Regions from separate parts of the Homo sapiens genome. Here region 1 is linked to region 2. Evidence: promoter capture Hi-C in 16 types of primary human blood cells and fetal thymus (Javierre and others, 2016). All regions are on one chromosome and are shown on one strand. Each heading gives the region's core, a stretch centred on a gene start or on the middle of the fragment in contact. The rest is flanking DNA. Distances are from core to core; before and after follow the strand shown. Region 1 holds the start of IP6K1 (inositol hexakisphosphate kinase 1). Region 2 holds the start of RBM5-AS1 (RBM5 antisense RNA 1).

The links. Contacts are between HindIII fragments. The CHiCAGO score rates a contact against its expected background, and 5 or more counts as called.
Region 1: the fragment with the promoter of IP6K1 here is called in contact with a fragment that was not itself captured in region 2 in 4 of 17 cell types (endothelial precursors, erythroblasts, naive B cells and 1 more); the score reaches 6.8 in endothelial precursors.

Annotation. Positions count from the first base shown.
Region 1 is chr3:49,784,205-49,790,705 of GRCh38, forward strand. IP6K1 (inositol hexakisphosphate kinase 1) reads right to left here and starts at 2,338. Exons shown (of 6, transcript NM_153273.4): 1 at 2,150-2,338. RefSeq lists silencers at 1,952-2,301, 3,037-3,201, 3,982-4,191 and enhancers at 2,016-2,705, 2,792-2,861. The HindIII fragment of the contact is 18,469 bases long and covers 1-6,501 here.
Region 2 is chr3:50,096,421-50,102,801 of GRCh38, forward strand. It overlaps RBM5 (RNA binding motif protein 5), which reads left to right. Exons shown (of 25, transcript NM_005778.4): 5 at 3,562-3,631; 6 at 4,112-4,185. It overlaps RBM5-AS1 (RBM5 antisense RNA 1), which reads right to left and starts at 4,568. Exons shown (of 1, transcript NR_045388.1): 1 at 3,183-4,568. RefSeq lists a silencer at 4,023-4,223. The HindIII fragment of the contact is 203 bases long and covers 4,300-4,502 here.

The DNA.
Region 1 (6,501 bases), core at 1,088-3,587, 310 kb before region 2:
AGGCTAATCTCTTAACTACTGACCTCAGGTGATCCGCCCGCCTCAGCCTCCCAAAGTGCTGGGATTACAGACATGAGCTACCGCACCTGGCCTCTTTCAAAATTATACATTCAGAGGTGACAAGATCCTGATAGAAGTGCACAAAGTAGGCTAGGCGCGTGACCAGGCACAGTGGCTCACGCCTGTAATCCCAGCACTTTGGGAGGCCAAGGCAGGCGGATCAGGAGGTCAGGAGTTCGAGATCAGCCTGAACAACATGGTGAAACCAGGTCTCTACTAAAAATACAGAAATTAGCCGGGCATGGTGGCACGCACCTGTAATCCCAGCTACTTGGGAGGCTGGGGCAGGAGACTTGCTTGAACCCAGGAGGCAGAGGTTGCAGTCAGCTGAGATTGTGCCATTGCACTCCAGCCTGGGTGAGAGAACGAGACTTCGTCTCAGAAAAAAAAAAAAAAAGTAGGCTTGGCGCGGTGGCTCATGCCTGTAATCCCAACAATTTGGGAGGCGGAGGCGGGTTGATCATGAGGTCAGGAGTTCGAGACCAGTCTGGCCAACATAGTGAAACCCCGTCTCTACTAAAAATACAAAAATTAGCCAGGTGTGGTGGCACGTGCCTGTAGTCCCAGCTACTCGGGAGGCTGAGGCAGGAAAATTGCTTGAACCAGGGAGTCAGAGGTTGCAGTGAGCCGAGATGGCACCACTGTACTCCAGCCTGGCAACGGAGCAAGACTCCATCTCAAAAAAACAAAACAAAACAAAACAAAACAAAAAGTGCACAAAGTATTGTCGCTTGACTTCTTAGTCATCTCATGCAGGCATATTCTATGACCACATACAAGAAGACTGTACAAAGAACCAAAGAGGCCACAGGTCAAGAGAAATGTGTTTTGGAGCAATGAGAACTCTTCCTAGACCTGCACACTCTACTGAGGATCTCCAACTTGCCCAAATTCACAGGAAAGGGGCTTGAAGGTGTTTTCACTGAGCAAGATAATTTTAGTACTGTTAAAAGTTAATTTGCGCCGGGCATAGTGGCTCACACTTGTAACCCCAGCACTTTGGGAGGCCAAGGGGGGTGGATCACGAGGTCAGGAGTTCGAGACCAGCCTGGCCAACATGGTGAAACCCCGTCTCTATTAAAAATACAAAAATTAGCCGGGCATGGTGGCGCGTGTCTGTAGTCCTACCTACTCGGGAGGCTGAGGCAGGATAATCGCTTGAACCCGGGAGGTGGAGGCTGTGGTGAGCCGAGATCGCGCCACTGCACTCCGGCCTGGGCAACAGAGCGAGAGACTCTGTCTCAAAAGAAAAAAAAGAAAAAAAACAGTTAATTTGCCAGTTCCATATCATCCACAACAAAAACAAGTTTCTTTTTCCGATTCTAAGACACTCCTACGTTTCCTTTGTCTCCTATGGCGAGCATCCCTTTAGGAGATAAAATCAAGTCATCACCATAATACTCACTTTCTCCTAAAGCAAAAAGAGGAAGACATTACCACTCTCCAAAAAGTGGTGGTGAAGAACCAAAGAAATTATGTTCCAAAATAAAACTCAGCCATTATGGACATTTAACCAGGTTCTTTGCGAGGAAAACGGTGAGCTTCGAGGTACACGTGAGGTTCCGAACGGGTCTCAGGAAGCAGCAGCCAGGCAGAGGGTCCCCCTTGCCATAATCATAGGGCCGTGACACCGGCCTGCCTGGCTCGCGGGGGCTTTGGCTTGCTTCGTCTAGTCTTAGCATCCAGCGTCCTGAAAATCACTCGCAGGAACGCTATCTAAGAAAGAGGTAAGTCTATTTCTCAGCCAGGAGCAACATAACTCCCAGGAGAGCATCAGGGTGGCACCGGACACACTTTAGCGCTCCGGATCAGCGGAGTCCAGAGCTTCGGTCAGAGAAGCTGGTTTCCCGCTACTAGCCGGCCAACCCTCAGGCACTGGCGCTCTCCGTCCTCCACACCGGCTGTCCCCCCGGCTTCGGTGCCAGCATCTGGGAGGCTCGGCGGGCGGCCGGTCAGGACGCTCGAGCGATGTTCCAGTGATGGCCCCACCGGAGCCCCGACCCCACACGCGCCCACTCCAACCCCGCGCCCGCCACCGCCCTCCCCGCGGGCGTCAGGCCGGTCTATCGGCCCGGCTCCTGTCACTCACCTGCCCGGCCCGGGCACCGAGCGCCCACGGCTCCCTACGGGAGCTGGGCCCCCCGGGCCTCCAGGTTTCGGCCCGCCCCCTGGCAGGCAGCACAGGTGGCTGAGCACCGCTACAGCGGCCTCTCACCGGCCGCTTGGTCCAGCTCCCGGCGCTGCCCACTGGGTACGGATCAACAACAAGATGGCGGCTAGCCGAGGGGGCGGGGGCCGGGCGTCATAGTAACCAGGACTGCAAAGAACCCGCCCCCGAGGGGGTGCTATCCCCAATCAACAGTCTTTTTGCTCGTCGCCAGGGGAAGTGCTTCCTGCTGACAGGTCAGCTCACGTGTCAGTCAGAGTCTGCCTCTCAGGGCCTCTGCCGAAAGCGTGGGGCACGTGACTGTGACGGCATGGGTTGGCGCATGCGCTTCGTTCCCGGAGTGGCTGGCGGCGGAGTTTTCGCTGGCTACTACGAGGCCGGAGCGCCCTTGGCCTCTCTGCGTCCCTGGCCCTCGTGCGGTACCGGCGGCGTCTTGTCATACACTTGCGCACACACAGGGAATCTCAGCGGTGTGCTATTCGTTTTTTTGTCCCCCACTCTGGGAGAAGGGGGGTGCAGCCCCCAGTTCACTCTGGAGAGGAAACTGAGGCTCAGAGAGGGGAGGCCGAGCCAAGGTCACGCCACCTCTAGAAATGGAGGTGCTGGGTCTCGCACCTCCTCCTGCTGGTTTCAGAGTGTGAGGAGCCTCTATCCCAGCTTCCCACGCTTTGTCCCTTACTAGCCTCGAGGTACCGCAGTCTGTGCTGCCACAGCAGCCTCTGGCTCATTGCCCATGCTTTCCTGCCTGAGGTTTAGAGCCTAGCACAAGTCCTGACACACAGCGGGCACTCCCTTTTCTCTTCCCTAGAGCATCTTGTCTTGAGATCCTGTGACAGCATCTTTTGCCCTGGACTGTCATGACCGGCCTCCCAAGCAGACTAATGGTCCCAGGAAGATGGTCACACCTTGCTCCCCATACAGAACACCTAACTCTGGGCTTGGCTTCAGGCTTAGAACAACAGATGAAGTTACGTGGCCTGGGCCCACACCCAAATGCCCCAACTAGCTAACTCTGACTTTTGAGCCTTAGCCTCTCTTTAGCTTTGGTTGTCCCATCTGTAAAATGAAGATAAAAGTGGAGCTTCTCAGAGGAAGATTTAATGAGCCCTCAGAGCAGGGGAAGAACTCAGGAAAAATCTGCCTACAACCACTTCCTGGAACAACCTGCTTCCAAGTTGCTGTTCCTGAGGCGTGCCTTAAAACACTAACTTTGGTGGAAGCCCCATGAAGCGTTTTTGTTTTGCTTTGTTTTGTTCCCACAGAAGGCTTTCAGCTTCTTCCTGGCCCTGGGATACCATAACTGGTTCAGAAGGGGAGGTCCTCCTAGCTAGGCGCAGTGGCTCATGCCTGTAATCCAGCACTTTGGGAGGCCAAAGAAGGTGGATCACTTGAGGTCAGAGGTTCGAGACCAGCCTGGCCAAAATGGTGAAACCCTGTCCCTACTAAAAATACAAAAATTAGCTGGACGTGATGGCAGGTGCCTGTAATCCCAGCTACTCAGGAGGTTGAGGCAGGAGGATCACTTGAACCTGGGAGGCAGAGGTTCAGTGAGCTGAGATCACGCCACCACACTCTAGCCTGGGTGACAGAGCAAAATTCTGTCTCAAAAAAAAAAAAGGGAGGTTCTCCAGTACCCTGAGGGGGTTCAGGCCCACAGACTCAACAGACGAGTAAAGACTGTGATAACTTGGATTTACCACAGTAAGGTCCTCTTGGAGAGCTGGCAGAAGCCTGAGACCTGATGTCAGGTTGGGCATGGAGAGTGGGCCAACACTGCATCCAGCAAGACCTGCCCACCAGCAGATTGCTGCAGGCCACTTGGCTACATGCAATAGCTCAGGTCAACACAGGGAGATGTGAGAGCAGAGGAACCAGAAGAAACAGATCAGGAAGAAAAGCCAACAACCCTCAAAAGGGGGATTCTGCTAATCCTCCAGGACCAGCCATGCCACAGGATTCTCAAGTCTGCATCACCCCTCACCGCAGTGCAAAAGCTCCAGATCCTTCCCAAGAAAACCTCCACATACAGTTGGCAAATTGCCCTGAAGTTTGATGGGACCCTCAAAAAGCAACAGTGGTATAACTACTGTGGATAACAGTTCGGAGGTTCCTCAGAAAACTAAAAATACAGCTACCACATGATCCAGCAATCCCACTGCTGGGTATGTACCCAAAGGAAAGGAAATCAGTATATCAAAAAGATATCTGCACTTCCATGTTTGCTGCAGTGCCATTCACAATAGCCAAGATTTGGAAGCAACCTAAGTGTCCATCAACAGGTGAATGGATAAAGAAAATATGGTACATATGGGCCGGGTGCGGTGGCTCACGCCTGTAATCCCAGCACTTTGGGAGGCCGAGGCGGGCGGATCATGAGGTCAGGAGATGGAGACCATCCTGGCTAACACGGTGAAACCCCATCTCTACTAAAAATACAAAAAATTAGCCGGGCGTGGTGGCAAGCGCCTGTAGTCCCAGCTACTCAGGAGGCTGAGGCAGGAGAATGGCGTGAACCCAGAAGGCGGAACTTGCAGTGAGCCGAGATCACGCCACTGTGCTCCAGCCTGGGCAACAGAGCGAGACTCCATCTCAAAAAAAAAAAAAAGAAAAGAAAATATGGTACATATGCAGAATGGAATATTATTCAGCCATTAAAAAGAATGAGATTGTGAGATTGGCTGGTGCGGAGGCTCATGCCTGTAATCCCAGCACTTTGGGAGGCTGAGGCAGGAGGATCACCTGAGGTCAGGAGTTCAAGACCAGCCTGGCCAACATAGGAAAACTCCATCTCTACTAAAAATAAAAAATAAAAAAATTAGCCGGCATGGTGGTGCACACCTGTGGTCCCAGCTACTCAGGAGACTGAGGCACGAGAATTGCTTGATCATGAGAGGCGGAGGTTGCAGTGAGCCAAGATCGTGCCACTGTACTCCAGCCTGGGTGACAAAGTAAGACTACATCTCAAAAAAAAAAAAAAGGAAAAAGATTTAAACAAAACAATTGAATTCATGGAGATAGTGAGTAGAAGGATAGTTACCAGAGTCTGGAAGGGGTGGGGAGGTGGGACGGTTAATGGGTACCAAAAAAAAAGAAAAATGAATAAGACCTAGTGTTTGATAGCACAACAGAGTGACTGTAGTCAATAATAACTTAATTGTACAGTTTAAAATAACTGAAAGAGTATAATTGGATTATTTGTAACACAAAGGATAAATGCTTTAGGGGATGGATGCCCCATTTTCGATGAGGTGATTATTAACCATTACATGCCTTATTAAAACATCTCATGTACCTCCAAATTTATACACCTATGTACCCACAAAAATTAAAAATTAAGAAAAAAATTAAAAAGAGAAACATCTCAACAACAACAACAACAAAAGCAACAGTGAGCTAGGCACGGTGGCTCACACCTATAATCCCAGCACTTTGGGAGGCTGAAGGGGGAGGATGGCTTGGACCCAGGAATTCAAGACCAGCCTGGTCAACATAGAGAGATCCCATCTCTACAAAAAAATTAAAAATTAGCCAGGCATGGTGGTCCATGCCTGTAGTCCCACCTACTTGGGATTCTGAGTAGGAGGATCGATTGAGCCTGGGAGGTCAAGGCTACAGTGAGCCACAATCACACCGTTGCACTCCAGCCTGGGCAACAAAGCCAGACAGCCAGACCCTATCTTTCTCTCTCTCTCTCTCTCTCTCTCTCTCTCTCTCTCTCTCTCTCTCTCTCTCTCTCTCCCCCTCTCTCCCTCTCCCCGCCCCCTCTCTCCTTCACACACATGCGCGCGCGCGCGCGCACACACACACACACACACACACACACACACACACACGCAGCATTGTTCTCTCTCTTCTGGATAGGAAAAGGAAGCAGGTGGCCCTGAGGAGACATGCTGATTGGAGGCCCCTCAGTCACTGACAAGGATGATAGCCTATTACTTCTATAGAGCATCAGTCACACTGTCAGTCTGAGCATCACACAATACCTTCTTAAAAGAAAAATAAAGCCAGGTGCAGTGGTGCGCCCATCGTCCCAGCTACCCAGGAGGCTGAGATGAGAGGCTCTCTTGAAGCCAGGAGTTAGACGCTATAGTGTGCTATGATAACACCTATGAATAGCCTCTGCATTCCAACCTGGGCACCATAGTGAGACCCTGTCTAAAAAAAAAAAACCCTGAAAGAGAAAAGGAAAACCTTACTGCTCCCTAGAGTCTGCTCACAAGGTAGGGAGTTGTCCAAGTGAGAACAAGGAGGCACAGATTTCAGAGCTTCTC
Region 2 (6,381 bases), core at 3,151-5,650:
AAGGGTACAGTGAGTTGTGTTCACGCCACTGCACTCCAGCCTGAGCGACAGAGCAAGACCCTGTCTCAAAAAGAGGGTCATGTCGGAAAAGGTCCTATTGAAAGAGGTCTGCCTAAGAGCTCTTGAAGGTTATTTAAAGGAAATTGTTACTAGTGGAGGGTAAGGAATCTTCTATTTTTATTTTTGTGAGACAGGGCCTTACTCTGTCGCATAGGCTGGAGTGCAATCGCGTGATTGTGGCTCACAGCAGCCTCCAACTTTTGGGGCTCAGGCAATCCACCAGCCTCAGCCTCCCAAGTAGCTGGGATTACAGGCATGTGTCACCACTCCGAGCTAATTTTTTTTTTTATCGTTTGTTTTTTTTTTTGTAGAGACAAGGTCTCTCTTTATTGCCTAGACTGGTCTTGAACTCTTGTCTTCAATCAATCCTCCCGCCTGGGTCTCCCAAAGTGCTAGGATTATAGGCGTGGAAAACTAAGGGAATGGTGTGGTAGATGGGCCCTTCAGGCGGAGGGGTATCACATGAGCAGGGAATAGAAAGGTACTGAATCTAGATAAGGCCTAGCAATCGGCTTGATTTGGCTGGAGTCAGAGGCTTTTGGCAGGAGAGGGATGAGTGGCAAAGTGCTATTGTGGCTAGGGGCTAGAGTTCTCAAAAGTCTAGCTAAGCCTAAAAGAATATTACTGAGGGTTGGCCAGGTGCGGTGGCTCACGCCTGTAATCCCAGCACTTTAGGATTCTGAGGCAGGCGGATCACAAGGTCAGGAGATCGAGACCATCCTGGCTAGCACGGTGAAACCCTGTCTCTACTAAAACTACAAAAAAATTAGCCAGCCGTGGTGGCGGGCGCCTGTAGTCCCAGTTACTCAGGAGGCTGAGGCAGGAGAATGGCATGAATCTGAGAGGCGGAGCTTGCAGTGAGCCGAGATCGTGCCATTGCACTCCAGCCTGGGCGACAGAGCAAGACTGTCTCAAAAAAAAAAAAAAAGAAACTGCTACAAGTATTGATTTGAGTGTTAGAAATTTTAATGAGTGGTTGAATTCACAGGTGTGATACCTGAGGATAATGAGGATTGGCTGTGTGTAGTCTTGCAGCCGTTGCACCTAGTTATGGAAAGTAGAGGCCAGTGAGAATCTTGTTTCCACAAATTTCACCCTGTTTTTTTTTTCATGGTAGTATTCATGCCTGATATTATTGATGAAGAGACTAGTATATTTTTGTGGCCTTTTGGAAAAAGGAGTTGGTCTGACATTGGAACAAGCCTACCAGCCAGAATACTTTATTCTAGCCCCAATTAATGTTTGATTTATTAGGAGCCTAAGAATGTGATGAACTTTGAAAATTTTTACCAATAATTTAACTGTAAGAAAAGTATGATCCATTAAAAATGTTTACCTGGCCTGGTGCGGTGGCTCACGCCTGTAATCCCAGCACTTTGGGAGGCCAAGGTGGGTGGATTACCTGAGCCCAAGAGATGGAGACCAGCCTGGGCAACATGGTGAAACCCCTCTCTACTAAAATATAAAATATTAGCTGGGTGTGGCGACATGCGCCTGTAGTCCCAGCTACTCTTGAGGCTGAGGCAGAATTGCTTGAACCCAGGAGGCGGAGGTTGCAGTGAGCCGAGATCATGCCATTGCTCTCCAGCCTGGGCAACAGAGTGAGACTCCATCTCAAAAAAATTTAAAAAAAAGTTTATCATCAGGCTCTTCATTTTTTGGCTGTTGATTTTTTTCCTTATTTTGAGAGTAGGCCTCAAAGAGCAGGAAGGCTATTCTTGATTAGGCGTACTTCAGGGCACAGTGACGCATCCACTGCCTCTTTTAAATCTCATCTGAGTCCTTATTTTTATTTTTTTATTTTTTTAAAGATAGGGTTGCACTTTGTCACCCAGGCTGGAGTGCAGTGGTGCAATAGCCCATTGTAACCTCGAACTCCTGGGCTTAAACAGTCCTCCCACCTCAGCCTCCCAGGTAACTAGGACTACAGGTGTATACCATCATGCTTGGGTAATTTTTATTTTATTTTATTATTTTTTTTTGAGACGGAGTCTCACTCTTGCCCAGGCTGGAGTGCAGTGGCGCGATCTCGGCTCACTGCAACCTCCGCCTCCCGGGGTCAAGCGATTCTCTTGCCTCAGCCTCCCAAGTAGCTAGGACTACAGGCACGTGCCACCACGTCTGGCTGATTTTTTGTATTTTTAGTAGAGACGGGATTTCACTGTGTTAGCCAGGATGGTCTCCATCTCTTGACCTCGTGATCCACCTGCCTTGGCCCCCCAAAGTGCTGGAATTACAGGCGTGAGCCACTATGCGAGGCCTAATTTTTAAAATTTTTGTATACAGATGGGGTCTTACTGTGTTCCCCAGGCTGGTCTCACACTCCTGTGCTCAAGCGCTCATCTTGCCTCATCTTCCCAAAGCGCTAGGATTATAGGCTTGAGCCACTGTACTATCCTGCAGAACAAAGGACAGGGAGATTAGACTAAAGGATGGAGGCTTGAGACATCATACCACAAGCAAGGATGTGTATCATAACAGAAATTAATTGCGGCCAGGCATTGTGGCTCACTCCTGTAATCCTAGCACTTTGGGAGGCCAAGGTGGCCGGATCGCTTGAGCCCAGGAGTTCCAGACCAGCCTGGGCAACGTGGCAAAACTCTGTCTCTACAAAAAATACAAAAATTAACCAGGTGTGGTGGTGTGCATTTGTAGTCCCAGCTACTTAGGAGGCTGAGGTGGGAGGATCACTTGAGTCCAGGAAGGCAGAGGTTGCAGTGAGCTGAGATCACACCAGTGCACTTCAGCCTGGGTGTCAGAGCTAGGCCCTGTCTCAAAAAAAAAAAAGGAAAAATTAATTACACCTGAGGGAAATTCCCATGCAACATTTAATGAATGCCTTCAGTGCTGTTATAATGCATTAATTTCTATGAGAAATGTTCTCTCTTTTTTGTGCCTTTTAGGAAAATTGCATTTTGGTGATAGAAGATAAAAACTTGGCTAATTAGGCCAGGCATGGTGGGTCATGCATGTAATGATATGGGAGGCTGGCATATCACTTGAGGCCAGGAGTTCGAGACTAGCCTGTCCAACACAGTGAAACCCCGTCTCTACTAAAAATACAAAAATTAGCTGGATGTGGTGGTGGATGCCTGTAATCCCAGCTACCTGGGAGGCTGAGGCAGAAGAATCGCTTGAATCCAGGAGGTGGAGGTTGAAGTGAGCCGAGATCACGTCACTGTACTCCAGCCTGGGTGACAGAGCGAGACTCCGTCTCAAAAAAAAAAAAAAATCAGTCACGCATGGTGGTGCACACCTATAATCCCAGCTACTCGGGAGGCTGAGGCAGGAGAATTGCTTGAACCCAGGAGGTGGTGGTTGCAGTGAGCTGAGATCATGCCACTGCACTCCAGCCTGGGCAATCAAGTGAGTGAGAGACAGAGACTCCCATCTTAAAAAAAAAAAAAACTTGGCTAATTAAACAGTTGATGTAATTCCTATTCCATGGGGAATAGTGTGTGGCAAAAGCTTTAACTGTAAATAATGTAAAACCCTGTGCAGATTCGAGAAATGATGGAGTCCTTCGAAGGCCCTCAGCCTGCGGATGTGAGGCTGATGAAGAGGAAAACAGGTGAGAGCTTGCTTAGTTCCTGATATTATTGTTCTCTTCCCCATTCCCACCTCAGTCCCTAAAGAACATCCTGATTCCCCCAGTCTTCAAGCACATGAATTCAGAATGAAAGGTTTGCCATGGCTAAGGAATGTGACTCTTTGAAAACCATGTTAGCATCTGAGGAACTTTTTTAAACTTTGTTTTAGGGACTTTTTTTTCCTTAGGTAAGTAATGATTTATAAACTCCTTTTTTTTTTTGACTATAGTCGGTTGCATGGTTACTTTAAGCGTGGAATCAAATGGAGTGGCATTTAGTTCAGGCGGCTTGTTCCTTGCCATGGCAAAGTATCAAGAAGATCCCCAAGTCAAGTCACATTTGTAAAGCTGCTTCCCAATTGGCTTTGTCACGCAGTGTTGAAGCAGTGGGAGAGAGATTCACCTGTTATAAAGGAACTGACTAACACAAGTATCCCGTCTATATCTGAATGCTGTCTCTAGGTGTAAGCCGTGGTTTCGCCTTCGTGGAGTTTTATCACTTGCAAGATGCTACCAGCTGGATGGAAGCCAATCAGGTTGCTTCACTCACCAAGTCTAGATATTCATGAAAATGGAACAAGTCTGTACAATTTTAAAAAAAGGTTGAAGGAGTGGTTTGTTCCAAAGGAGTGACTTTTTTTTAAAAAAAAAGCTTTGTATATATTAAAATTGATGTTACTAGAATAAGTACAGTACCAAGGACTTCATTATAGAATTTGTTCTGCCTTTAAACATGGCTACCTACCTGGCAGGGCTTTGTTAACTACTGAATACCTGTCTGGTAATCACTAAAACATCTTAATGTTTCCCTTTTTTCTAGTTTGTTATATTCCTATTATGTCCATTGAGAGTAAGCTTAGTATATCAAACTCTCCATTTGACAGTGAAGAGAACATAGTGAAAGTCTGTGGCGGCATTTTTATAAGTAATTCCTTATTTCTGCCTGAAGACCACAAAGCCTCCTGGAGGCGTAACTGCTCAGACCGGTCTTCAGGGAATATTTAAGGACTTAGTGGAATTTATGAACAATAAGTCTGATGAGATTAGCCTGGGAGTGGTGTCCTGCAGCTGTCTAATCTAGTTAGAGTGGCATTAACATTCTAATCTCCTTGAGAATGCCTTTTATAGTCTGTTCAAAGCAAGTCATTGATGGTTCTTCGAGGTAGTGTTAACTGAAGTGTTCTTCAGTTTGTCAAGATAATGTTCAGTGCTTGGCACTTAAATAACATTTTTTGCAAGAACTCCAAGGCACATTATTGAATGCCTTTAACCAAGTGCATTCTGGGAAGTTTGCTTGACTCATTATCTTGCTTTTCTGCAGCATTCTGTGATTTGAGTCATCCATGAATCCATGAATAAAAGTTACATTCTTTGATTGGTAATATTGCCATTTATAACAAGACTCACTAATGAGGGTATCACTTTGACTGACTGATTTGTTAAAGTTTTTAAGCCTCTCATTTTCCTAACCCAGAAATCACAGCCTGATTTTATTAAAAGTAGAGCTTCATTCATTTCATACCATAGATACCATCCTAGTAAATCCAGAACATATACAAGGTTCATGTGAGTCTGCTTTCTTGACATGATAGCATTGTTTGATGCAGTGGATATGTCAGAATGACTAACCTAGGAGTTTAAAACTCCTAAGAAACTAAAACCTGTAAGACATTTAAAAGTCTCCACAATTTTAATGTATACAAAGCTATGTTACTGTGTAACACATTACAGTTCAAATTCACTCCAGAAATAAAAGGCCAGTAGGATTAGGGACTCACTGGTAGTTTGGAGTCTCCCAGCACACATCCCTCCTAGTGGGATGATCTATTCACATATCTCCCAGCTTTTTTATTTTTGCTTCTGTATATCACAGTGAGTGGATGGCCCTTCAGCTTTTTCTCTCCTGGCCAGACATGCAGTCTTGCCTTTAGATATCGCAGAGACAAAATTCACAGCATGTCTTAAATCTTCCAGGATTTGCAAGAACCAAATTGCTCAACAGTATGTATGTTTAGAGGGGTTAGACTCCTTTTTAAAATCTGGATATCTAACCACCTACTTAAATCTGTTTGATAGTGTCAAACCACCCCCACCCTTGATCCTCCCACCCCCAAGAAAAAGAAAAGATGCTCCTGTTAAATGAAGGCTCTTTAGGGGTAGGTGCTAGGTATACTCTTGGCTAGATTGATTCAGCTCAGAATTTTGACTTTTTAAAGCTAAGTCCTTGTAGTCACATGGTTGACTTGAAGGATGAGGTGGTGTGTGCATTTATGAGCTTTTCCTACCCCCCTGAAGAAACTTCATTGGCCTCCTGGTTACTCACCTTGAAGAGAGTACCATCCATTTTAGTGAAAAACACATCTGTCACCTAGGACATGACATGGTTGCAGTTGACAGGAAAAAAAAAATCTCATTTAGTTGTTTTAGAGTTGGTGGCATTCAGAATAGTCCCTCTTGAGAAAGAATTGTAACCAGATTCCCTTTAAAAATGAGTTCCCCTCCCTTTCCCCCCAAAGGACTCATCCTGAAGCAGAAGGTGTGGGGGGAAGGAGAAATGTAAAGGCTTTTACTTTGCATAAGGATGGGGGACTGGGGAAAAAGGTGAAGCGAAGCCCAAGGACACCATGCTAAGGGCAAAAGTAAGAGACAGTCTCAGAACTGAGAGAATTGTGTCTTCTGCTTTTTGAAGTAGACTGTCACACTCAGGCAGCCTGTCAATGCTGAATGTTAGG